Linked DNA regions of Homo sapiens: regions 1, 2 and 4 are each linked to region 3. Evidence: promoter capture Hi-C in human tissues and cell types (Jung and others, 2019). All regions are on one chromosome and are shown on one strand. The core of a region is centred on a gene start or on the middle of the fragment in contact, and the rest is flanking DNA. Distances in the headings are between cores, read along the strand shown.

Region 1 (5,842 bases), core at 520-3,019, 450 kb after region 3:
CCTGTAATCCCAGCACTTTGGGAGGCCGAGGCGGCCGGATCACCTGAGGTCGGGAGTTCGAGACCAGCCTGACCAACGTGGAGAAACCCTGTCTACTAAAAATACAAAATTAGCTGGGCAAGGTGGCACATGCCTATAATCCCAGCTACTCAGGAGGCTGAGGCAGGAGAATCACTTGAACCCAGGATGCGGAGGTTGTGGTGAGCCGAGATCACGCCATTGCACTCCAGCCTAGGCAACAGGAGCGAAACTCCATCTCAAAAAAAAAACAAACCAAAAACAAAATGGTGGAAATGCTTTGGGTGCAGCCAGTGGGGTACTTGTTTCCTAGGAGCCATCCTTTCATTGATTTTATCATTTTAAGTAATTGGTAGGTATCTATGATGCCATACAGCTGGCTTACTGTGCACTTCTTTCATTGCTGGCAAGGCGAGGCTCTAGCCTTAAAATAAAGCCCAGTGGCCAGGTGTGATGGCTCATGCCGTACTCCCAACACTTTGGGAGGCCAAGACAGGAGGATCACTTCAGGCCAAGAGTTTGAAACCAGCCTGAGCAACATAGTGAGACCCCATCTCTACAAATAACAATAATAATAAATTAGCCAGGTATCATGGTATGCACCTGCAGTCCTAGCTACTCAGGAGGCTGAGGCAGGAGGATCGCTTGAGCCCAAGAGTTCAAGGCTGCAGTGAGCCACAACTGTGCCTCTGTACTCCAGGCTGGGTGACAGAGCAAGACCCTACTTCAAAAAAAAAGCCCAGTGAGTAAACACATCTGTATGATCAGTGTTTTCAAATAATGTATAGGGAAATATCGTTTTCACATCTACTTAAAATTGCACTCTGATATTTTTTAGTTTTTTTTGTTGTTGTTTGTTTTTTTGTTTGTTTGTTTTTGAGATGGAGTCTCGCTCTGTCGCCCAGGCTGGAGTGCAGTGGCACGATCTCAGCTCACTGCAAGCTCTGCCTCCCAGGTTCACGCCATTCTCCTGCCTCAGCCTCCCGAATAGCTGGGACTACAGGCGCCCGCCACCATGCCTGGCTAATTTTTTATGTTTTTAGTAGAGACGGGGTTTCACCGTGTTCACCAGTATGGTCTCGATCTCCTGACCTCGTGATCCGCCCGCCTCAGCCTCCCAAAGTGCTGGGATTACAGGCATGAGCCACTGTGCCCAGCTATTTTTTAGTTTTTCTGATGTTATCTTAGTAATTACTCAGCATTCATGCAACAATTTCTTGTATACATTAGCTACTTTACAAATCCTTCCCGTCCAGATAATGCACTAAATAATGCTCATTATTTTTGGTGATTTTTATTGCTGTTCTAATTGTTAGAATGCCAAGACAGCCCCCATTCAGTTTGTGCTCTGGCACATCAGCTGCTTATTGTCAAATATCTGAGTGCTTACTGTGTGCCACACACTGAGGATCCAGGAGTGAGCAAAGTCAACAGGGTCCACCCCTTACAGAGCGTACTTAGACCTCATCACCTTCAAAAGATAAGAAAGTGATGGGGCTGGGAGAGAACTTAGAAAGTTAACTGGAAGGTGACCTAGTGGTCCTTTTGAGGGAAGCTCAACTTCCAGCAAGGCTGTCCCAGTGGTAATAAGCATCAGAAGGTAGTTTGCACCTCATCTAAGTAATTTTCGTCATAGGTTTACAGAAATTAGTGTTTGCCCTCCATGATGGCTCTTAACAGTTGAAATTAATGGAATAAATATAAACTAAAGATCATATATAGAAATCCGTAAAGATCTGACCAGTCACAGTGGCTCACACCTGTAATCCCAGCACTTTGGGAGGCAGAGGTAAGAGCATTGCTTGAGTCCAGGAGTTCTAGACCAGCCTGGGCAACAGAGCAAGATCCTGTCTCTACAGAAAAAAAATTTTCTTTTTTGAGATGGGAGTCTCGCTCTGTTGCCCAGGCTGGAGTGCAGTGGCACGTTCTCACTGCAGCCTCTGCCCCCCAGGTTCAAGTGATTCTCCTGCCTCAGCCTCCCAAGTAGCTGGGATTACAGGCGCTGGCCACCGCCCCTGGCTAATTTTTGTATTTTTAGTAGAGACGGGGTTTCACCATCTTGGCCAGGCTGGTCTTGAACTCCTGACCTTGTGATCACCCACCTTGGCCTCCCAAAGTTCTGGATTACAGGCATGAGCCATTGCGCCTGGCTCAGTAAATTTTTTTTTTTGGAGACGGAGTCTGGCTCTGTCGCCCAGGCTGGAGTGCCATGGCACGATCTTGGCTCACTGCAAGCTCCATCTCCTGGGTTCACGCCATTCTCCTGCCTCAGCCTCCCGAGTAGCTGGGACTACAGGCGCCCGCCACCAAGCCCGGCTAATTTTTAGTATTTTTAGTGGAGACGGGGTTTCACCGTGTTAGCCAGGATGGTCTCAATCTCCTGACCTCGTGATCTGCCCACCTTGGCCTCCCAAAGTGCTGGGATTACAGGCATGAGCCACCGTGCCTGGCCCCGGCTCCCCCAGCTCAGTAAATTTTTAAAAAATTAGTCAGGCCTGGTGGTACGAGCCCGTAGTCCCAGCTACTCGGGAGGCCAAGGTAGAAGGATCACTTGATAGGAGTTTGAGGCTACAGTGAGCTATGATCACAATACTGCACTTCAGCCTGGGCAACAGAGTGAGACCCTGTCTCTAAAAGTTTTTTTTTAAATTTTTTAATTAAAAAATAAAAAGAGGCCAGGAGTGGCTCACGCCTGTGATCCCAGCACTGTGGGAGGCTGAGGTGGGTGGATCACTTGAGGCCAGGAGTTCACCACCAGTCTGGCCAACATTGCAAAAGCTCATCTTTACTAAAAATACAGAAGTTAGCCGGGCGTGGTGGCATGTGCCTGTAGTCGCAGCTACTCGAAAGGCTGAGGCATGAGAATTGCTTGAGCCCGGGAGGCAGAGGTTGCACCCAGCCGAGATCATGCCACTGTACTTCCAGCATGGGTAACTGACTGAGACTCTGTCTCAAAAAATAATAACAATAATAAATTTAAAAAATAAATCTATAAATATCAATTTGCCTTGAATTAGCCAAGTTGAATCTAATAGTAGCAAATTTGGGGAGGTGCAATAGCTTTCATATTGGTATTTTGAAATCTGTTTTGAAATATCAATCGATAAAAACATAATATCAACCAGAAGGAAAGAATACTTCTCTTAATATTCAGTTTTCCAAAAGAAATAGTTTAATCCTTGGAAATAGGGCCAATTAGAGAAAAAAAACAATCTTGGACTCATCAGAATGTCTATCTCAGTAAAGGTATTTTGAAATATCTCTTATAATTATCCTAAATCCTCAAATAAAAGTTTAATTATATGAAGCCATAACTCTTTGGAAGCTTGGGAAAGTGTGTGTAAAAACTAGATGCTGAGCTCTTTGGAGGAGGGGATTAGGACTTTTTATTTCTAGATCCCAAGCTAATACAAAGCTTTAATGTTGAATGAATATTTGCCATGTGTAGTCTTGGAAGTTTAAATTATAAGGTCTTTGTGTTTTACAGCTTTTGGCTGATGCCTGCATTTATGCTCAAAAAAATAGTTCTTGGAAATTTTTCATCTGGCCCGGTGGACCCTATGATGGCTGATGCCATTGATTTCATGGTAGACAGGGTAAGGATCATGACATTGGGTTGGGGACACATTGTATTGGGAATTTTCACATCTACTTGGTTCCAGAAGATAGATCTGTCTCACAAGTATGTGTAAGAGGTATTTGCTAAGCAGAGTAATACATCTGAGCAGATATTATTGCTGGTAAGGGCTTGCCTACATCAGTGCTTCCCACCAGCTATTCATCAAAATCACTTAGGGGAGCTTTCAAAAATACAGATTGTAAGGCCTCACAGCAGATCATCCATCTGGAATCCCTGGGCATGGGATCTGGGAATCTATTTTTACTTCACACTTTTCCTCTACCCACCAGGTAAATCTGATGAACCAGGTCTGTTGGCTTGCATTTAGGAACTGCTGGGCTAGATGATTTCTCAAATCTCTTTTAAGATCCCTTAAAGGTTTATCTTAAAAAAAAAAAAAAAACAAAAACATATATCTGTCACCTTTGAGCAGTAGGAATTGGCTTGCTGCCCATGGGCACCTGGCTGGAGTAGGCAGTGTAGGCTGAGGGCTGTAGAAGGCCGGGTTTCATTGGTTTGTACCCAGGTTTCCAGAATAGAAAAATGCCACAACCTCCTGAGAAGCCCAGTTCATGGTCTCTCACCTAAGTTGTGGTTCCTCACTGATGACTTTTCTGGCCCCACCACAGATGATACCACCTTTATAAGCACAAATGTTGTCTGTGGATTTAATGTAAATGTGAAAAACAAAATTATTTCAAAAACTTTACCTGTGTTTCTTCCTGCAGCTAGAAAGTTTGGGTCAGAGTGAACTGGCTTCAAGACTTACCTTGAATTGTCAAAATTCTTATGTGGAACCTCATAAAATTCGGGACATACCTGTAACTATTATGGATGTAAGCTTCCTTTTAAGTAAAATAGCTGCTTTACTTTTTAAAATGTGTATGTCAAGATCTCCTATAAAACTATTTGATAACTTTCAATGTACCTCTTCAAATGCTGCCTTGGCTTTTGTTTTTACCCTCCAGCTTTCTCAATTCCAAAATAATCTGTTTATTGCTTATCTTGGATTTCTTTCTGGCAGGAATAACACCATTGAAATCAAAATAGGCCGAGCACAGTGGCTTATGCCTGTAATCCCAGCGCTTTGGGAGGCTGAGGCAGGAGGATTGCTTGAGTCCAAGAGTTCAGGACCAGCCTGGGCAACATAGTGAGACCCTGTCTGTATTTATTAAAAAAAAATAAAAATAAAAATGAATCAAAATAAATTTAAACAAGGGAGTCTACCCATTTGATGTATTTTTGCTGTTCTCATCAATAGATATTGCACCATATATTGCACATATATGGGCAGCAAAGAGAAGGTGCTTCACAAGGGTAACAAGGGTAGAGAATCAAGAATTCCATAGTTTAATTACCACAAAAGCTTGCTTATTTTTTTATTGTGGTAAAATGTACATTTAAAATATGCCATTTTAACCATTTTTAAGTGCATAGTTCAGTGGCATTAAGTATATTCACAGTTCGGCAACCATCACCATTTTCACAACATTTTCATCATTCCAAGAAGAAATTGCATACCCATTAAACAATAACTCCTGTTCCCTTTCTTCCCCCGGCCTCTGATAATCAACGGTTTTATTTTCTGTCTATAAAAATTTACCTATTCTAGAACCTCATATAAGTAGAATCATACAACATTTATCCTTTTGTGTGGCCATTTCACTTAGCATAATGTTTCACAAGACTTATCTTGAAATGTTATACATGTGTCAGAATGTCATTTCTTTCTTTTTTTTTTTTTTTTTTTGGAAACAGGGTCTCACTCTGTTCCCCAGGCTGGAGTGCAGTGGTGCAATCTCAGCTCACTGCAACCTCTGCCTCCCGGGCCCAAACAATCCTCCCTCCTCAGCCTCCTTAGTAGCTTGGACCACAGGCTCACACCACTACGTTCGGCTAATTTTTTGTAGAGATGGGGTTTCACCATGTTGCCCATGCTGGACTCAAACTCTGGGACTCAAGCTGTCTGCCTGCCTGGGCCTCCCAAAGTGCTATGACAGGCATGAGCCACCACGCCCAGCCTATTTCTTTTTAAAGCTGAATAATATCTACCAATAAAACCAATGTTGGTTTATACCACATTTTGTTTATCCATTCATCCGTCAGTGGTCACTTGGGTTGTGTTCAGCTTTTGGCAATTGTGAATAGTGCTTCTATGAACATTGGTGTAAAAGTATATGTTTGGGCAGGGCACAGTGGCTCATT
Region 2 (5,716 bases), core at 297-2,796, 450 kb before region 3:
ATCAAATGCATATCTTTCTGGCTTTCTCAGTCAGCTGATTCAGCAAGAAATCATTCAGGAGGCAGTGAATCCAATGCAGCACAAAGAATGGTTATTTCTAACTAGAGAGTCAACTAGAGGGTGTCAAAGATGCTGTGGCAAACACATACATGCTTTTATTTGATATCAGAAGAAAATGTCAAAGTTATTAAAGTGATGTACAAAAGCAATGCACTTTCAATTTTATAGGATGGTTAGTTGATATACTAGTTTCCAAGGTCCACCATTCTGGATATGAAGTCAAATCTCAGTTTCAGTTAATAGTCTATTATTAATAGGATACATTCACTGTTGCCTCTTAGTACAAAAGGCTGGATGTTTGCTAAGGAAATGGCCTTTGAATCACTTATACAAAAAAAAAAATTTAAATACAAAAAAATACACAAAAAATACATGAATAAATACAAACAAAAAAATTAGACAGGCACGGTGGTGCATGCCTGTAGTCCCAACTACTCAGGAGGCTGAGGTGGGCAAATGGCTTGAGCCTGGGAGGCAGAGGTTGTGGTGAGCCTGGACTGTGCACCACTGTACTCTAGCCGGGGGAGTAGAGCCAGAACTTGTCTCAAAAAAAAAACTTCCAGCACTTTCTTTCTTTCTTTCTTTTTTTGAGACAGGGTCTCACTGTCGCCCAGGCTGGAGTGCCACGGCACAAGCAGAGCCCACTGCAGCCTAGACCTCCCAGGCTCAGAGGATCCTCCCACCTCAGCCTCCCTAGTAGCTGGAACTACAGGCACATGCCAACACGCTCAGCTAATTTTTTGTATTTTCTGTAGAGATGGGGTTTTGCCATGTTGCCCAGGCTGGGTCTCAAACTCCAGGGCTCAAAAGATCCACTCGCTTTGGCCTCCCAAAGTACTGGGATTACAGGTATGAGCCACCATGCCCGGCCAACTCCAGCACTTTCAAGTTTTGGTTTCCTCCCTTTTGACCTCCACTTTTAACTAATGATTATGTTCATTATCTCACCAATCTCAACTCCTTATACCATCATAAAGATAGCAAGGGAACTTTTCTCTTAATGTAACCAATTAATGTTAACACTACAAAAAAAAAGCACTCTAATCTGAAAATAACTCAAAATTCATGAATGTTTTAAAAAGTTATCTCAACTAGGCCGGGCGTGGTGGCTCACACCTGTAATCCCAGCACTTTGGAAGGCCAAGGAGGGTGGATCACCTGAGGTCGGGAGTTTGAGACCAGCCTGACCAACATGGAGAAACCTCATCTCTACTAAAAACACAAAATTAGCCAGGTGTGGTGGCGCATGCCCGTAGTCCCAGCTACTCAGGAGGCCGAAGCAGGAGAATTGCTTGAAGCGGGAGGCGGAGGTTGCAGTAAGCTGAAATCGCAGTAAGCTGAAATCGCGCCATTGCACTCCAGCCTGGGCAACAAGAGTGAAACTCCATCTCAAAAAAAAAAAAAAAAGTTATCAACTAGACATCTGCTGTATTTGAGTATCATCGCAAATACCTAATACTGAATATCAAGCTGCTAAATGCATAAAAGCAGAATATACATATTAATTATCCATTGAAAATTTCTGCCTCTTCAACCACATTTAGTTTTATACTTTCTCTTGCAAACTAATTTACTGGACTAAAATATAATTCATCAAAGACAGTACCTCAACCCTAAAAGTTACCACGTGAGAGAATAACTGGTAATTTTCATTCTAGTTTTCATAAATTTGGAGACATTTCTATTCTTTCAACTATATTCATAGTCCAACCTCCTCAAAAGTTTTTAATATACAATGCGTTCAAGGCAGGACACAGTGGCTCATGCCTGTAATCTCAGCACTCTGAGAGGCCAAGGTGGGAGGATCCCTTGAGCCCAGGAGTTTGAGACCAGCCTGGGCAACGTAGGGAGACCCTATCTCTACAAAAAAGAAAATTTTATTTCTGTAAGTGGGATAGTCTTAAAAAAAAAAAAATAGCCAGGCATGGTGGAGCACATTTGTAGTTGCAGCTACTTGGGAGGCTGAGGCAGGAGGATTTCTTGAGCACAGGAATTTGAGGCTGCAGTGGGCTATGACTGTGCCATGGCACTCCAGACTGGGCAACAGAGGGAGACCCTGCCTCAAAAAATATATATATATAGATATAGATATAGATATAATGCATACAATAAGGCTCAAGTCTAGACAAGTTTTTCCAGATTCAGCAGAATCTGAGTTGCTCAACCAAAACTTGTGAAAGAAAAACTACTACCAAGATGCAAGACAGCAAAGTTCCTATGATAATTTCTACTGACAATCAGCTGATGGTTAATTACTACTGACCTCCAATGTGATTGAAAAGAAAATGTCTTAAGCAATAGACTATGTATCCAGATATTTTCAGAAAATCTAACTGTGGATTGGTGTCTACCACACAATATTTGTAAACAGAAATCATGATTGATGCTTACTTATGTCCCACAGGGCCTTAACCACATTGTTCGTAAATACTTAAGGAATTAAAGTTTTAAAAATAAAAAGTCAACTTTAAATAAAATAAAACTAATTCCCTCCCACCAAAAGTCTCACTATTGGGCTTAAATAAAGGTTACTGTTCAAGAACAAACACATAATTTAGAATAATTGTCCTGCTCGCCCCACATTACATTCCTATTTAGACCACTCCATCCCCTATTAATCAAAATATCCCTTTATTTTGAACTGGTTAGTTACAAACTAACTCCAATTCCCTCAACTATTGCATTTGCTAGGTAAACCTTCTAAGTAGAAACAGCTGCAGTCCATCTCAGTGAATAAATCTCTGTACAATAAAGCCATTTTGAAATAAAATCATTCTTGCTTCACTTTAAAGTAGGATACTTGTATAAATAAGAAATTGGCTAAATAATCAGCATTGAAGTTAAAAAAGAAAAAGAAAAAGTGACTCATATCCTGTAAGAGCTTTAAAAAAGTAGAAATCTGGCCAGGCACGGTGGCTCACACCAGTAATCCCAGCACTTTGGGAGGCCCAGGCGGGCGGATCACCTGAGGTCAGGAGTTCGAGACCAGCCTGACCAACATGGAGAAACCCCGTCTCTACTAGAAATACAAAATTAGCCGGGTGTGGTGGTCCATGCCTGTAATCCCAGCTACTCGGGAGACTGAGGCAGGAAAATCGCTTGAACCCAGGAAGCAGAGGTTGCAATGAGCCGAGATCGCGTCATTGCACTCCAACCTGGGAAACAAGAGCGAAATACCATCTCAAAAAAAAAAAAAAAAAGTAGAAATCCTCCTTAGCAGAATTTTTAACACCCTATCTTAAACAGCAAAATGCACAACAAAATGAAACCATAACCCATGGAAACATAAAATGCATTCGAAGTTCCTAGTTTTATTTTCTTTAATAATATTTAAATGCTCTTGTAGTTGAACCTACATTTAAGGTTCAAAAAACTGACAAAGGCCAGGCACAGTGGCTCACGCCTATAATCCCAGCACTTGGGGAGGCTGAGGAAGGTGGATTGCTTAAGTCCAGGAGTGCGAGACCAGCCTGGGCAACATGGCAAAACCCTGTCTTTACAAAAAAACAAAAAACTAGCCGGGCGTGGTGGCGCGCTCCTGTAGTCTCAGCTACTCCTAGGAGCTAGAGAGTAGCTAGGGAGGCTGAGGTCGGGGGGTCACCTGAGCCTGAGGAGGCCGAGACTGCAGTGAGCCTTGATTGTGCCACTGCACTCCAGCCTGGGGGACAGAGCGAGACCCTGTCTCCAAAAAAAAAAAAAAAAAAAAAAAAAAAAACTGACAAAACCACAGTAACTTCTTTCACATTATTACCATTTATTGAGTCCTCATGGTTAAAATTTTACGAACAGTCTCATTATTTAATTCTCACAATCTTAAGAGGCAGGTATTTTCCTTTTTATAAAGTAGAGAACTGAGACTCAGAAAAGTTAACTTTTCCAAGGTCATAAAGTAAATATAAGACCTGAGTCAGGATCTAAACCGAGGTCTACGTGATTCCAAAGCTCAGTGCTCTCAATTGTTGCTAGAAGGATGGTCTAATCAAAAAGTTAAAATACTTTAGGCCAATTCAGAATATTTAATATTCTTTGTTAAAAAATAAAAGGACCTTGTATAACCAACATTCAAGTTCAAACCAAACAGGAGAAATACCCTGACGGTCTATCTTGTTCTGAATTAATTACTTCAAAGACAACCTTTATAAAAGCACACTACCATTATACCATATTTCAAAACACAAACCTAACCTTTAACCCCAAAGTCTCAAGAGATTCAAATAGTTTCACATCATCTCAGATACCTTCGGCAAAAGGTATGCTGTCATATACTTTTTGTAATCCAGGCCTCAGTTTTGTATTTGTAAAATGAACTAAGTACCCTGAAAGTACTTTCCAGTATGGAGGGGGAGGGTGGATACCAAAAGTATTCACCCTATACAGTAGAATATTCTGAGTCAGAGGAGTAAGAGATGATAAGAGTATAACAGCAGACTAGTTAGTATAACAAGATTTGCAAAGTATTGGGAAAGCAAAGAAATCTTTCCTGCTTGGTTTAGTCAATCATTCTTAGCACCCAATGGCAAAGACAGAAACAGTCACCATGCTTAACACTCTTGAAACTCCACCCTCCACAGTAAAGCTTTAATAGCAATGGCTTCTTCCTCAGTGGTAATGATCTTTGTTCGGCACACTACTGATGGCTACCTTCCCAATTCAGGAGCAGAGAAAGAGCATCAGAGTGAGAGTGCATTCACTGAACAAAAAAAGCATCTACTGTACTCTCTTCTCATTGAAAAATGTACCCTTTATCTTCGTTGATTAAAAAAAAAAACCGGATTCCTTCCGGACTCAACCAATAAGCAATTCTTTCTAACCAACCCTGACCCTCCAATATGTTCTGTCCAAGGGCACTACATGTTTCCGTATCTTATAATAAATATTTAATGTAACCAAAAGAGCACACAACTTCCTCCCACCCCCAACCTTTTGGGAAAGGTATGTGGCTAACTAGGGCTCTTCCCTTCCTGTTGGATCCTCCCAGCGTTGCAGCAGGAAGCAACCAGTTCATAGAGATAAAGCAAGCTAGTATTTGTGCAGCGCACAACCTTTCCTGCTCAGGAACCAGGCCTTCAGGTCTGGCAAGGATAACAGCCACCACCCATCCGCAACCTCATCTCGCGAACCGAGTAAAGAGTTATCCCGGGTTGGGTGCCACTGAGTAGGGAGGGCAAGAAAAGAAAAGGCTAGGTGGGAAGTAATGTCAGCCTGCCGGGTCACTGCGACAAGTGCGCGAGTGGGTGATGGGCGATCCCTCTTACCCTCCCTCCCACCACCCAGGTCGCAACGGAGACAAGGGAGCTCTAAACACGATTTGGGGAGGGAAGGTAGAGAGAGTTGCCAAATGGGGAGTGGGAGAGGGAGCGGTCAGAGAAGGTTAAGGACCGCGAGAACCGCGGGGCGGAGGGTGGGGGCGGAGGCCCTTGGCCCGCTCAGATTTTACGGGGTCCTGGACCCGGGATGGGAGAAGCTTAGAGGGGCGGCCGTCCAAGTGGAGGGGAGATACAGAAGAGACGCTCGCTCGAGGGGGGAAAGAGGGCAGATAAGAAAAAGACCTGTAATGGGAGTCTGCACCGAAGGCAAGGCCAAGAGGGAAGCGAAGAACCCGTCAGAGGGGCTTCGGGAGAGGACGCGAGCTGGGAAGGGTGTACGCCGAGGGGGA
Region 3 (5,226 bases), core at 683-3,182:
GTGGTGAGCACAGGGGGTGGTGTCGAAGGGGAGGTCAGAGAGGTAGAGCAAGCCTACAGATCAGATAGGCCTTGTGGGTCACAATAAGGACTTTGGCTTTTGCTCTGACATAGGAGCCGCTGGTGGGTTTCTAGCAGAGAAGTGGCATGATCTCATTTTAACAGGAGCACTCTGGCTGCTGTATTGAGAAAACACTCAAGGAGGACAAGGACAGAAAAAGATCAGTGAGGAGTTTGCTGTGACAATCCAGGTGAGAGGCGACGGGTCTTGGACCAAGGCCACAGTGAGAAAGTGGAGGGTGAAGCATCTGAACATGAAGAGTAGGAGATGACTCTACATTTTTTTTTAATAGAAATGGGGGTCTCGCTATGCTGGCCAGGTTGGTCTTGAACTCCTGGCCTCAAGCGATCCTCCCACCTCGGCCTCCCAAAGTGCTGGGATTACAGGCGTAAGCCACCAAGCCTGGCCTCTACATTTTTGACCTGGGCAACAGGAAAGGAACTGAGATGAGGAAGACTGTGGGAGGAGAAAGATTGATAGAAAAGATCAGGATGAGTTTGTCTACTAGACAGCTAAAGGAACTGGGGCCTGGATGGCTGGATACAGAAGTCCAGGGTTCAGGAAAGATGGTCTAGGCTGAAAGTATACATTTGGGCATCATTAGCATAAAGATGCTCTTTAAAGCCTTGAGGACCAGATGAGATCACTAAGGGAAGCAAGTGTTTCAAGGAAGAGGGAGTGATTCACTAAGTCAAATGCTGCTGATAGGGCAAGTGAAGATGGGGCGTGGCAATGAATGAATAAACGCCAGGCCTGTTAGATATGCAAAGCGCCAGTGATTATTGAGGGTTAACTGACAACAGACAGGTGTAGAGACAAGATGGCTCTAAGTCACAGGAACACTTAGAGACACAGGGAAGGGAAGAACTATGGCATCTTGGAGTTGGAAAGGACCTTAACTAGGTCATTGAATCTGTACTCTTTTCCCCACCCTAGCCTGACAATTGAACCCTTGGCTGTAGAACAAGAAATATTTGCGGGATACTGAGGCAAACAGTCTGGCTAGGTAGGTTAGAGAAAGTACCGTTGAAGAATGAGAAAAAGGGTACTTCAGTAAATGCTGGACAGCAGAGGCAGGGTGAGGGAGTGGAGATGACCTTCCGAAGTCAGAAAACCAAGGTTCAGGTCCTGTATCTGCTGCTCCCTAGCCTCCTGTCCTTGGGCAAGTCACTTCACCTTCTCCAGCCTCAGTTTCCCCATGCGGCGACATCTGAATATGGTAGTGCTTGAAGGTAGTGTAAAAGTGTCCTGCCTGTGTTAGTTACTGCCAGAGCAAGGGAAGGAGGCCAAGAGAAGCCCTTGGTTTGGGATGGCAGATAGGACTATCAAGATCTCCGCAGGTGGGCTGGCGCAACGTGTGGAGAAGCGAACCAGCATTCAGGCCAGGACCTGGGCTGGAATGGACTGGGCTCGGGTGGCAAGGGGGCCATCTGGACAAAGACCGTGGCCCTGAATCTGCCTCCCCTGAGCCTGGAACGGAGGTGGAGACCCCGAGGCAGCAACAGGGAGAAGAAATAGAGACGCTGAGGCAGAGAGACCAGAAGACTCAGAGACGGGGAGACTAAGAGACAGACCCAGCAACAGGCGGCCTCACGGGGGCCCGCGGCGACCCGGAGAGGGCGAGGCACCGGGACACAGACCCGGGCCGAGAGGAGCCCCCGCGAGGCGCAGGGCCGTGGCGCGCGGGCGCAGGGTCCCCGGCGGGGCCAGGGTGGCCACACTCGCCGGGCGCCCCCTCCCGGGCCGCTCGCCCAAGATGGCGATGGAGGGGCGGGTGAGGCGGCAGCGGCCCTGGCCCCCGCGCCGGCCCCAGCTCGGGCCCGGGCCCCCGAGGCCGCGCCCCCGCCCGCGGCGCCGCGCCTCCCCGGGCCACTGACGCCCGGCGCGCTCTCCCCCCGCGGCGGCGGCCGAAGCACGGGGAGGCGGCGGCGGCGGCGGCGGCCCGAGCCCAGCCCCATGGCGCGGGGGGACGCCGGCCGCGGCCGCGGGCTCCTCGCGTTGACCTTCTGCCTGTTGGCCGCGCGCGGTAAGGGCGGGCGCCCGGAGAGGCAGGAGCGACTGCGGAGTGCTGGTGCGCCCGCGCCCTGGTCTGCATCGGGCTGCGGGGCTGGCTCAAGCCGGAGTCCCGAGCAAGTGCGGGGGCTGCGCGTCCAGGTGCCCGCGATGCCTGCGCGGGGGTCTGCGAGCTGCGGCCGGGGGGCGTTTGTGGGGCGTGCTTGTCCGCAGTGGGTGTGTGCCTTTGGTTCGCAGAGTCTGGAGTCGTGTGTGTGTGTGTGTGTGTGTGTGTGTGTGTGTGTGTTGGGAGTGCTCCTGTCGTGTCCGCAGTGCGTGCCATGGTCGCGGCGTGGCATCGGCGGGGCGGGTAGCTGCGGTGTCGGTGGCTTTCGCGGGGCGGGCTCTGCCTTGCCTGCGCGTGTCTTGGGTTGAGAGTGTGTGTAAAAGAGGAGGGAACTGGGGTTGTGTCTGCACCTCCATTTGGGTCGGGTGCGTGTGCAATTGTGTTTATGGGGCTGAGCTAATATTTGGCCTTGGCATTTGGGAAGTGTCCTTGCCCATAGTGGGGGACAGAGCGATGGATCCCGTTTGACTGGGGGTGGTGGTGATAAAACAACACTCAACTTTGCCCAGTGGGTGTGGTCCCTGGGGCCGGTTAGAGAGGGGTAGAGGGAGGTGTTGCTCCCCAAAACCTGTGGCCAGCAGTGGACTGGGGGAGGGGGCAGGAAACCATTTGCTTTCGTGGACATGTCCAGCGCTTGTTCTCACGATGGGACGCGTGTCACCCCGGCCCCACCCCCCAGGGACCGACCAGGGAAGCGTGGACGAGGTCAGCAGGGCCTCATCCAGTCCGCAGCCCAGTGCGGAGTGGGTACGGGGTAAGTCAGAGTTGTCCAAGCTGGAGAAAGGGCTGGGGAGGGGATAGCGAAGTCCCCAAGGGTGTGTGTCTAGGGCTGCGGCTTCCACCCACAGCTCTGTCGCTTCCTGTCCGGTGTGCGTTTGGGGGCGGCTCATGGGGAGTGTAGGTGGCAGGGCTGGGAGGGGGATGGGCTGGCCGCTTTGTTCGCCTAGTTCTTGCCTTCCCCGCGGAGGGGGGAGCTGAGGATGTGTCCGGGGAGAGTCGGGGAGGGACTTGGAGGTGGGGGTGGGGAGGGGGATTTCTCTCCAGCTGCTGCGGCTTTCCAGAGAGACTCAGCCAGGCCACGTGGGAGGGAGGCGGGGGGAAGGAGCCTCCGCCTGGCCAGCCCCAGGCCCATCTCCAGGAAAACCAAACAGCGGGTGGGAAAGTGCCGGGAACTCCTCGGACCCCTTCTGTCCCTACAAAGACACGCCCCTTTCCAGCCCCAACAGCGGATTAAGCTGGAGGCCGCCGCGAGGCTGGGTCTCGGCTGCTGGGCCAGAGGAGCTGGAGGCCCTGGCTTGTCAGGTGAAAGGGGCGGGGAAGTGTCAGAGAGAGGTCTGTCTTCCCAGAGCTCAGGGGATTAAGGAATAGTTCCCCTGCCCCACCTTCCGCTATTCCTAGGGCTCCTGGAACGAGCTCAGGGTCACCCAGCTAAACGGCATCAGGGCTGGGAACCGCACCGGCGCATTATTCAATACCTTTAGGACCTGCCGCGAGGGACCCAGCTTCCCTGGCCTCTCCCTGCTCCCGAACGCACAAAGCAGGCGAGGGACCGAGTTGCGGCGTCTCTTGGTTGCAGTGTGAGTGGCTACAACAGCTTGCCCTGGTCCTCCAAATCTCAGCAGGCCGGGGGACACTCCAGTCGAGTCATGACTAGCCACCCTGATCTGTACTGAGGTCATTCATTCGTTCAACAAATATTTATGGAGCACCTTTTATAGGCTAGCTTGTGCCTAGTGCCTAGAATATAGTAAATAAGGAGGCAGACCTGATCCCTGGTGCAAAGCTTTCAGTCTGGTGGAGGGGGAAACTGACAAGTCCCCTGAAGTGCTGGGGAAGACGCAGGAAGGAGGGGCTCCTACACCGATCTGGGAAGGTCAGCAAAAGCTTCCTGAAGAAAGTGATGAGTAGTAGAGCTCGACATGGAGTTAGCCCTGTAGAAGGAGAATGATGATGGGGACAGTTTTCCAGAGAACAGCATGTGCAAAGTTCAGAGGTGATTTAGTTGAGATCATTGGATTAAACTAAATCTAGCTGGAGTTTAGGGACAAGGGGTGGATGGGGGGCAGGTGAGGGAAGCATGGAAAGGGGTCAGGGAGTATCAAGACAGGAGGCTGAAGAGGGGAGCTAGATCCAGCTCACAAAGGGCTTTACAGGGCCCACCAAGGTTTCTGGCCTGAGAGTCCCCATGAGCCCTTGACAGGATTTAAAATCAGCTTTGCATCATCTCATTCCAGCCAGTGTGGAGGATGGATTGGGTGGGGCTGGAGGCAGGAAGCTCCAGCTCCTTCGAGGCTGTTGTAGCAATCCAGAAGAGAGGATGGTGGCAGCTAGCATAGTGGCAGTTGGGGTTGGGCTGGAGTGGCTGCATTCCAGAGATTTTCAGGAAATAGAATCAGTAGAACTTGAGGATAGATTGAATTTGTAGGGGGCGAGAGAGAGGAAAGTAAGAAATAGGCCGGGTGCGGTGGCTCACGCCTGTAATCCCAGCACTTTGGGAGGCCAAGGCGGGCGGATCACGTGAAGTCAGGAGTTCAACACCAGCCTGGCCAACATGGTGAAACCCCATCTCTACTAAAAATACAAAAGTTGGCCAGGTGTGGTGGTGCATGCCTGTAATCCCAGCTACTCGGGAGTCTGAGACTCGAGAATCGTTTGAACCTGGGAGGTGAAGGTTGCAGTGAGCTGAGATCACGCCACTGCACTCCAGCCTGGGCGACAAAGTGAGACTCTGTCTCAAAAAAACAAACACAACAACAACAAAAAAACATGAGGCAGAATGAAGGGCTGGTATTGGGGTTAGGATAATGCCTGTGCCTGCCCATCTCCTCCCAACACTGTTCTTGAGTCAGGGACTGGGACCCCTTTGTGAACAGGTGGCGAGAAGCCGAGCTCTGTTCTTATCACACGCACAAAGGTGGGGCTCTCGGCTCTCCCTTCTTCCCAAGTCAGAATTTGGAGGGTAGGGAACCTAGAGGTCAGTAATGGGAGGCCTCTAAGAACTTGAGAGCTTTCTCCTCACCTGGGAACTCCTCACCTCCCCCATCCCT
Region 4 (5,797 bases), core at 2,816-5,315, 430 kb before region 3:
GGCTGGAGTCAGCGGCAAGATCACGATTCAATGCAGCCTTGACCTCCCAGTCTCAAGTGATCCTCCCCACACCAGCCTCCTAAGTATCTGGGACTACAGGCACATGCCACCCCACCCAGATAATTTTTTTGTAATGTTTGTAGAGACAGGGGTCTCCCTCTATTGCTCAGCCTTGTCTCAAACTCCTGGGCTCAAGCGATCTGCCCGCCTCAGCCTCCCAAAGTGCTGGGATTACAGGTGTGAGCCACTGAGCCCAGCTGACACTTGCAGGGATAATGGATATGTTCATTATCTTTATTGTGCTAATGGTTTCACAGGTGTATACATATCTCAAAACTCATCAAATTTCACATTTTAAACAGGTGCTCTGTATTGTTTTCTGGAAAGAGAGAGCAAGATCAAGAAAGAAAAAGGAGAGCACAAAAACAGAAAGTCCTCCCTCATCTTTGATATTCTTGAATGCAAGATTGGAATACTCAGATGCCAAAAATCATTATCACTACTCTCATACACACTAACCACTAAGTCACCTACATGGTTCCTTTCCTTTTTTTTTTTTTTTTTTTTTTTTTTGAGATGGAGTCTTGTTCTGTCACCCAGGCTGGAGTGCAGTGGCACGATCTCGGCTCACAGCAACCTCCGCCACCCGGGTTCAAGTAATTCTCCTGCCTCAGCCTCCCGAGTTGCTGGGATTACAGGCACGTGCCACACCGCCCAGCTAATTTTTTGTATTTTTAGTAAAGACGGGGTTTCACTGTGTTAGCCAGGATGGTCTCGATCTCCTGACCTTGTGATCCACCTGCCTTGGCCTCCCAAAGTGCTGGGATTACAGGCATGAGCCACTGTGCCCAGCCCATGGTTCCTTTCTTTACAATATCTCTTGGTATGTTTCTTTCCATTCCCATAGCCACCACTCTGGTGTGATTTCCTTCTCCACTGTTTGGTTACAACCTAACCCTACCCTCAGTTTTCTCCCACTTCAATCCAACATGCTGGTGGCTGCCAGAATAATCTTAACAAATGACACCTCCAACTGCATGATTCCTATTATTCAGAGCCATCATTGAAATATCTATGTAAGTCCACACATGCCTGAAAACAAAAGGTTATAAAAATAAAATGTTAGCAGTGGTTATTTCTGCAGAATAGGATTACAGGTGATTTTTATTATTTTGTTTATCTGTTTTCTATATTTTATAGGAGATTTTAAAATAAAAAAAGCTTTACTGGTCTTGCTTGTTACAAAAGGAATGAACAGTCATTGTAAAATAGTCAAATAACACAAACAATATAGAAGTACAGTAAACTTGGAAAGTGAAGTTTGTTTCCTCCTGGCTGCCAACATTGTGGTTTCCTCCCCAGCACCACCCCACCCCTTCCATCCAGAAAACAGCCAGGCAGTTTGGGTGGGATTATCCCTACCCACAGCTCCAGGAGTGGCTTCTGGAATTATCTAACCCTGAGGTTCTCAATCCTAACATCCAAACCCTGATATTGTAACAAACGTTTCATAACACTGTCTTTACCATCCTGACATCAATAGATCTTATCTTATGATATACCTTCCTGCACACATAATTTTAAGTTGGGAGTCAAGCTTGCTGATATTTTAGTGTTTTCTTTATTTTATATATGTGTATGTGTGTCTTTGTATGCCCATGCAGGCATGTACATATCATACATCCTATTTTAGTTGTTGAGTACATATTACACTTAGAAAAAGTTACATAGGAAAACACCAGAGTTGAAGAAAGATGTCAACCATCATTTTAGAGAACCTTTTGAGTGCTGCATAGGTGAGTGCACACACTTTAAAAATCAATATAATGCTATAAGTATAAAGGATAAATAAGAAAATAATGCATTATAAAAAGATATGTGTTTCAATAAGTAAATGCTTGATGGCGGGCGTGGTGGCTCACACCTGTAATCCCAGCACTTTGGGAGGCTGAGGCAGGAGGATCAGTTGAGCCCAGCCTGGGCTATGGTAGTAAGACCTCGTCTCTACAAAAAAAAAAAAAAAAAAAAAAGTAAATGCTTGAGCACAAGTGTAATAGAAGACATAATGAAGTAATTAGATACTTGCACCTAACAGAATCACCATTTATGTAACAATGTTTATTGAGTACCTACTATGTGCTGGGCACTGTTTACTAGGGATACAGACAGAAATCCTTGCCTTAGACTGGGCACAGTGGCTCATGCCTGTAATCTCAGCACTTTGAGAGGCCAAGGTGGGTGGATCGCTTGAGCTCAGGAGTTCGAGACCAGCCTGGGCAACATGGCGAGACTCTGGCCCTGCTAAAAATACAAAAAAATAGCCGGGCATCGTGGTGCATCCCTGTGGCCCCAGCTACTCGGGTGGCTGAGGTAGGAGGATCGCTTGAGCCTTGGGGGCAAAGGTTGCAATGAGCAAGTTCACACCACTGCACTCCAGCTGCGCCACAGAGTGAGACCATGTCAAAAAAAAAAACAAAAAAAGAAAGCGGGGGGGAGGGTTAGAGAGAGAAAGAAAGAAAGAGAAAGAAAGAGAAAGAGGGAGAGAAGAGAGAGAAAGAGGGAGAGAAGAGAGAGAGAAAAGAAGGAAGGAAGGAAGGAAGGAAGGAAATTAAGGAAGGAAGAAAAGAAAGAAAAAGAAATCCTTGCCTCATGGAGCAAACATTCTAGCAGGGTGGTGTGGTTATAGACCACAATCAACATAATACATAAGTAAGTTATGTATTACATTAGAAGATGACAACTGTTCTGATCTTTTTTTTTTTTTTTTTTTGAGGTGGAGTCTTGCTCTGTCACCCAGGCTGGAGTACAGTGTACAATGGTGCTATCTCGGCTCACTGGAACCTCCACCTCCCCAGTTCAAGTGATTCTCCCGCCTCAGCCTCCCGTGTAGCTGGGATTACAGGTGCGTGCCACCATGCCCGGCTAATTTTTGTGTTTTTGTAGAGATGGGGTTTCACCTTGTTGGCCAGGCTGGTCTTGAACTCCTGACCTCAGGTGATCCGCCCACCTCAGCCTCCCAAAGTGCTGGGATTACAGGCCTGAGCCACCACGCCCGGCCCTGTTATGACTTTTTTAAAGTAGAACAGGGTAAAAGGAAATAAGAGTTCAGAGCAGTAGAGAGGTGGGTAGTGACTTGCAGTTCAAAATAGAGTAGTCAAGGCAGCCTCACTAGAAGGTACATTTGAGCAAAGATTTAAAGGAGGTGAGGGAATGAATCACACCGATTATCTAGGGGAAAAATACGCAGGCAGGTGGAATAGCTAATGTGAAGACCCTAAGGCAGAAGCTTGTCTAGCAAGTGCGTGGTCTGTAAACGGACCAGGGAGGTGGATTAGAGCAGGTACTATAAATAAAAGCAGAAGTAGGAGATGGGTCAGAGAAGTAAAGAAGCCAGATCTTGAAGGGCCTCATGGGCCACTGTAAGGCTTGTACTCTGAGTAAACTGGTGAAACATGAGAAGGTTTTGAGCAGAGGAGTGACATGATCTGACCTACATTTTAAAAGGAAAAATCTGGCTGCTCTGTTGAAAACATTGTAGGAGGAGAAGGATGGAAGCAGGGAGACCAGTTGGGAGGTTGTTATAAGAATCCAAGCAAGAAATCAATGCAACAGCTTCAAATGCAGACTAATATTCACTAGTGTATTTTGTAGACGTCATTGATTGTAGGATACATCCTGATTTCAGAGATGTTAAAATATGCAGTGTGAATTGCATTATGCAGTGTGAATTGCAATATGCAGGGCTAAATCAGTGACTCAAATACCACAAGTGTTGGTTGTTGAAGACATGATTTTCTGAAACAGTGAACAACTTTTGGTAAAGTTCCAAATGTAGCTAAATACTATTTTCTGTCAATTTACTCATTAGCCTCATATCTGGATATTCTGTTTATATTAAAACCATGCAAAAATAGTTTATATTTATATATAAAATGGAATGAGAGGCTAGGCTCAAATTATTACACACAAGTTTTTAAAAATCTACATTAATGTCGAGCAGGGCATTAAAAGTTGTGCGGAATGTGGGAAAATTCTGTAATGTATTTACCCATACATTATCAGAAATCTAATGCCCCTGGCCCACATTCTGTAAATGACCAATTATTGTGACAGCCAAAATTTCTCCCCAAGGCTAGGTGCAGTGCTCACGCCTACAATTCCAGCACTTTGGGAGGCCGAGGCGGGCGGATCACTGGAGGTCAGGAGTTCGAGACTAGCCTGGCCAACATGGTGAAACCCCGTCTCCACTAAAAATACAAAAACTAGCTAGGCATGGTGTTGCGTGCCTGTCATCCCAGCTACTCGGGGGACGAGGCAGAGGTTGCATTGAGCCAAGATGGCGCCACTGCACTCCAGCATGGGTGACAAGAGTGAAACTCTGTCTCAAAAAAAAAAAAAAAAGTTTCTTCCCAAATTTCCAAAGAGAGCCCTAGAATGTGATGCCAGCAGAGTGCATGATCCAGAAACATACTATTATGGTCCAACCAGAGAGAAGCCTGGGTGGGCTGCATGATGGGTGAAGGGAGACACCCAGCACCTTAGTGACACCTGTAGCCTCGCCTCAATGTGCTGCAACTCTCCCACCACCAGGGGGAGCTAGCCTTAGGATGAGGCTTTTATTATACCTTTTTAGGCAATGTAATTTTCTTTAAAAATGTGATAAAATACACATAAAACGTACCATCTCAACCATTTTTACGTTGTACAGTGTACATTCACATTGTTATGCAACAAATATACCCAGAACTATTTTCTTTCTTTCTTTTTTTTTTTTTTTGTTTGAGACTGAGTCTTGCTTTCTTGCCCAGGCTGGAGTGCAGTGGCACGATCTTGGCTCACTGCAAACTTCACCTCCCCGGTTCCAGCGATTCTCCTGCCTCAGCCCCCCGAGTAGCTGGGACTACAGGCACCCGCCACCACCCCCAGCTAATTTTTGTATTTTTAGTAGAGATGGGGTTTCACCATGTTGCCTAGACTGGTCTCGAACTACTGACCTCAAGTGATCCTCCTGCCTCAGCCTCCCAAAGTGCTGTGATTACAGGCATAAGCCACCTCGCTCGGCCCCAGAACTCTCTTCATCTTGCAAAACTGAAACTCTATACCCATTATGCAATGCCCTGGCAGCCACCATTCTACTTTCTGTCTCTATGAGTTTGATTACCCTAGGTATCTCATCTAAGGGGAATCATAGGGTATTTACACTTTTATGTCTAACTTATTTCACTCAATATAATGTCTTTAAGAGGCTTTTACCGCCAGGCATGGTGGCTCACTCCTGTAATCCCAGCAACTTTGGGAGGCCGAGGTGGATGGATCACCTGACGCAGGAGTTCGAGACCAGCCTGACCAACACGGAGAAACCCCATCTCTACTAAAAATACAAAATTAGCTGAGCGTGGTGGCACATGCCTGTAATCCCAGCTACTCAGGAGGCTGAGGCAGAATTGTTTGAACTCAGGAGGCGGAGGTTGCGGTGAGCCAAGATCGCACCATTGCACACCAGCCTGGGCAACAAGAGGGAAACTCCGTCTCAAAAAAAAAAAAAAAAAAAAAAAAAAAAAAAAAAGAGGCTTTTACCTTGAAGGCAAAGGGCAAGATGGAAAAAAAGCTGAACCACACGTTGAACACCTATGTCAACCCATCACCAAAGCCCACTCTGCCTTTAGGCATTTGACTACTTGGCCAATATATTCCCCTTATTATTTTAGTCCATTTGACTCTAATTTTCTATTGCTTGCAACTGAAAATACAAGTGATACCTTCCCCTTCTTTCCTCAAGTAGCATTAACATTTTGGC

Evidence for each region. Contacts are between HindIII fragments. The study calls those that stand out against the background at their distance.
Region 1: a contact is called between a fragment that was not itself captured here and the fragment with the promoter of IGDCC4 in region 3, in 2 of the 25 tissues and cell types used here (adrenal gland and thymus).
Region 2: a contact is called between a fragment that was not itself captured here and the fragment with the promoter of IGDCC4 in region 3, in 1 of the 25 tissues and cell types used here (lymphoblastoid cells).
Region 4: a contact is called between a fragment that was not itself captured here and the fragment with the promoter of IGDCC4 in region 3, in 1 of the 25 tissues and cell types used here (lymphoblastoid cells).

What each region holds. Positions count from the first base shown.
Region 1 is chr15:64,967,886-64,973,727 of GRCh38, reverse strand. SPG21 (SPG21 abhydrolase domain containing, maspardin) reads left to right here. Exons shown (of 9, transcript NM_016630.7): 6 at 3,506-3,614; 7 at 4,366-4,473. Among named protein-coding and RNA genes, the nearest start is that of SPG21, 19 kb to the left of the region's middle. The HindIII fragment of the contact is 8,694 bases long and covers 1-5,842 here.
Region 2 is chr15:65,869,979-65,875,694 of GRCh38, reverse strand. All of the region lies in intron 1 of RAB11A (RAB11A, member RAS oncogene family), which reads right to left. Among named protein-coding and RNA genes, the nearest start is that of RAB11A, 3.3 kb to the right of the region's middle. The HindIII fragment of the contact is 7,068 bases long and covers 1-5,080 here.
Region 3 is chr15:65,419,653-65,424,878 of GRCh38, reverse strand. IGDCC4 (immunoglobulin superfamily DCC subclass member 4) reads left to right here and starts at 1,932. Exons shown (of 20, transcript NM_020962.3): 1 at 1,932-2,086. The coding sequence starts at 2,017. RefSeq lists enhancers at 1,120-1,654, 2,630-2,899, 2,920-3,029. The HindIII fragment of the contact is 12,230 bases long and covers 1-5,226 here.
Region 4 is chr15:65,855,826-65,861,622 of GRCh38, reverse strand. It overlaps LOC105370866 (a long non-coding RNA gene), which reads right to left. Exons shown (of 3, transcript XR_932372.2): 3 at 1,140-2,004. Among named protein-coding and RNA genes, the nearest start is that of TRQ-CTG1-4, 10 kb to the left of the region's middle. RefSeq lists enhancers at 3,396-3,475, 3,536-3,625 and a silencer at 4,507-4,596. The HindIII fragment of the contact is 3,245 bases long and covers 2,443-5,687 here.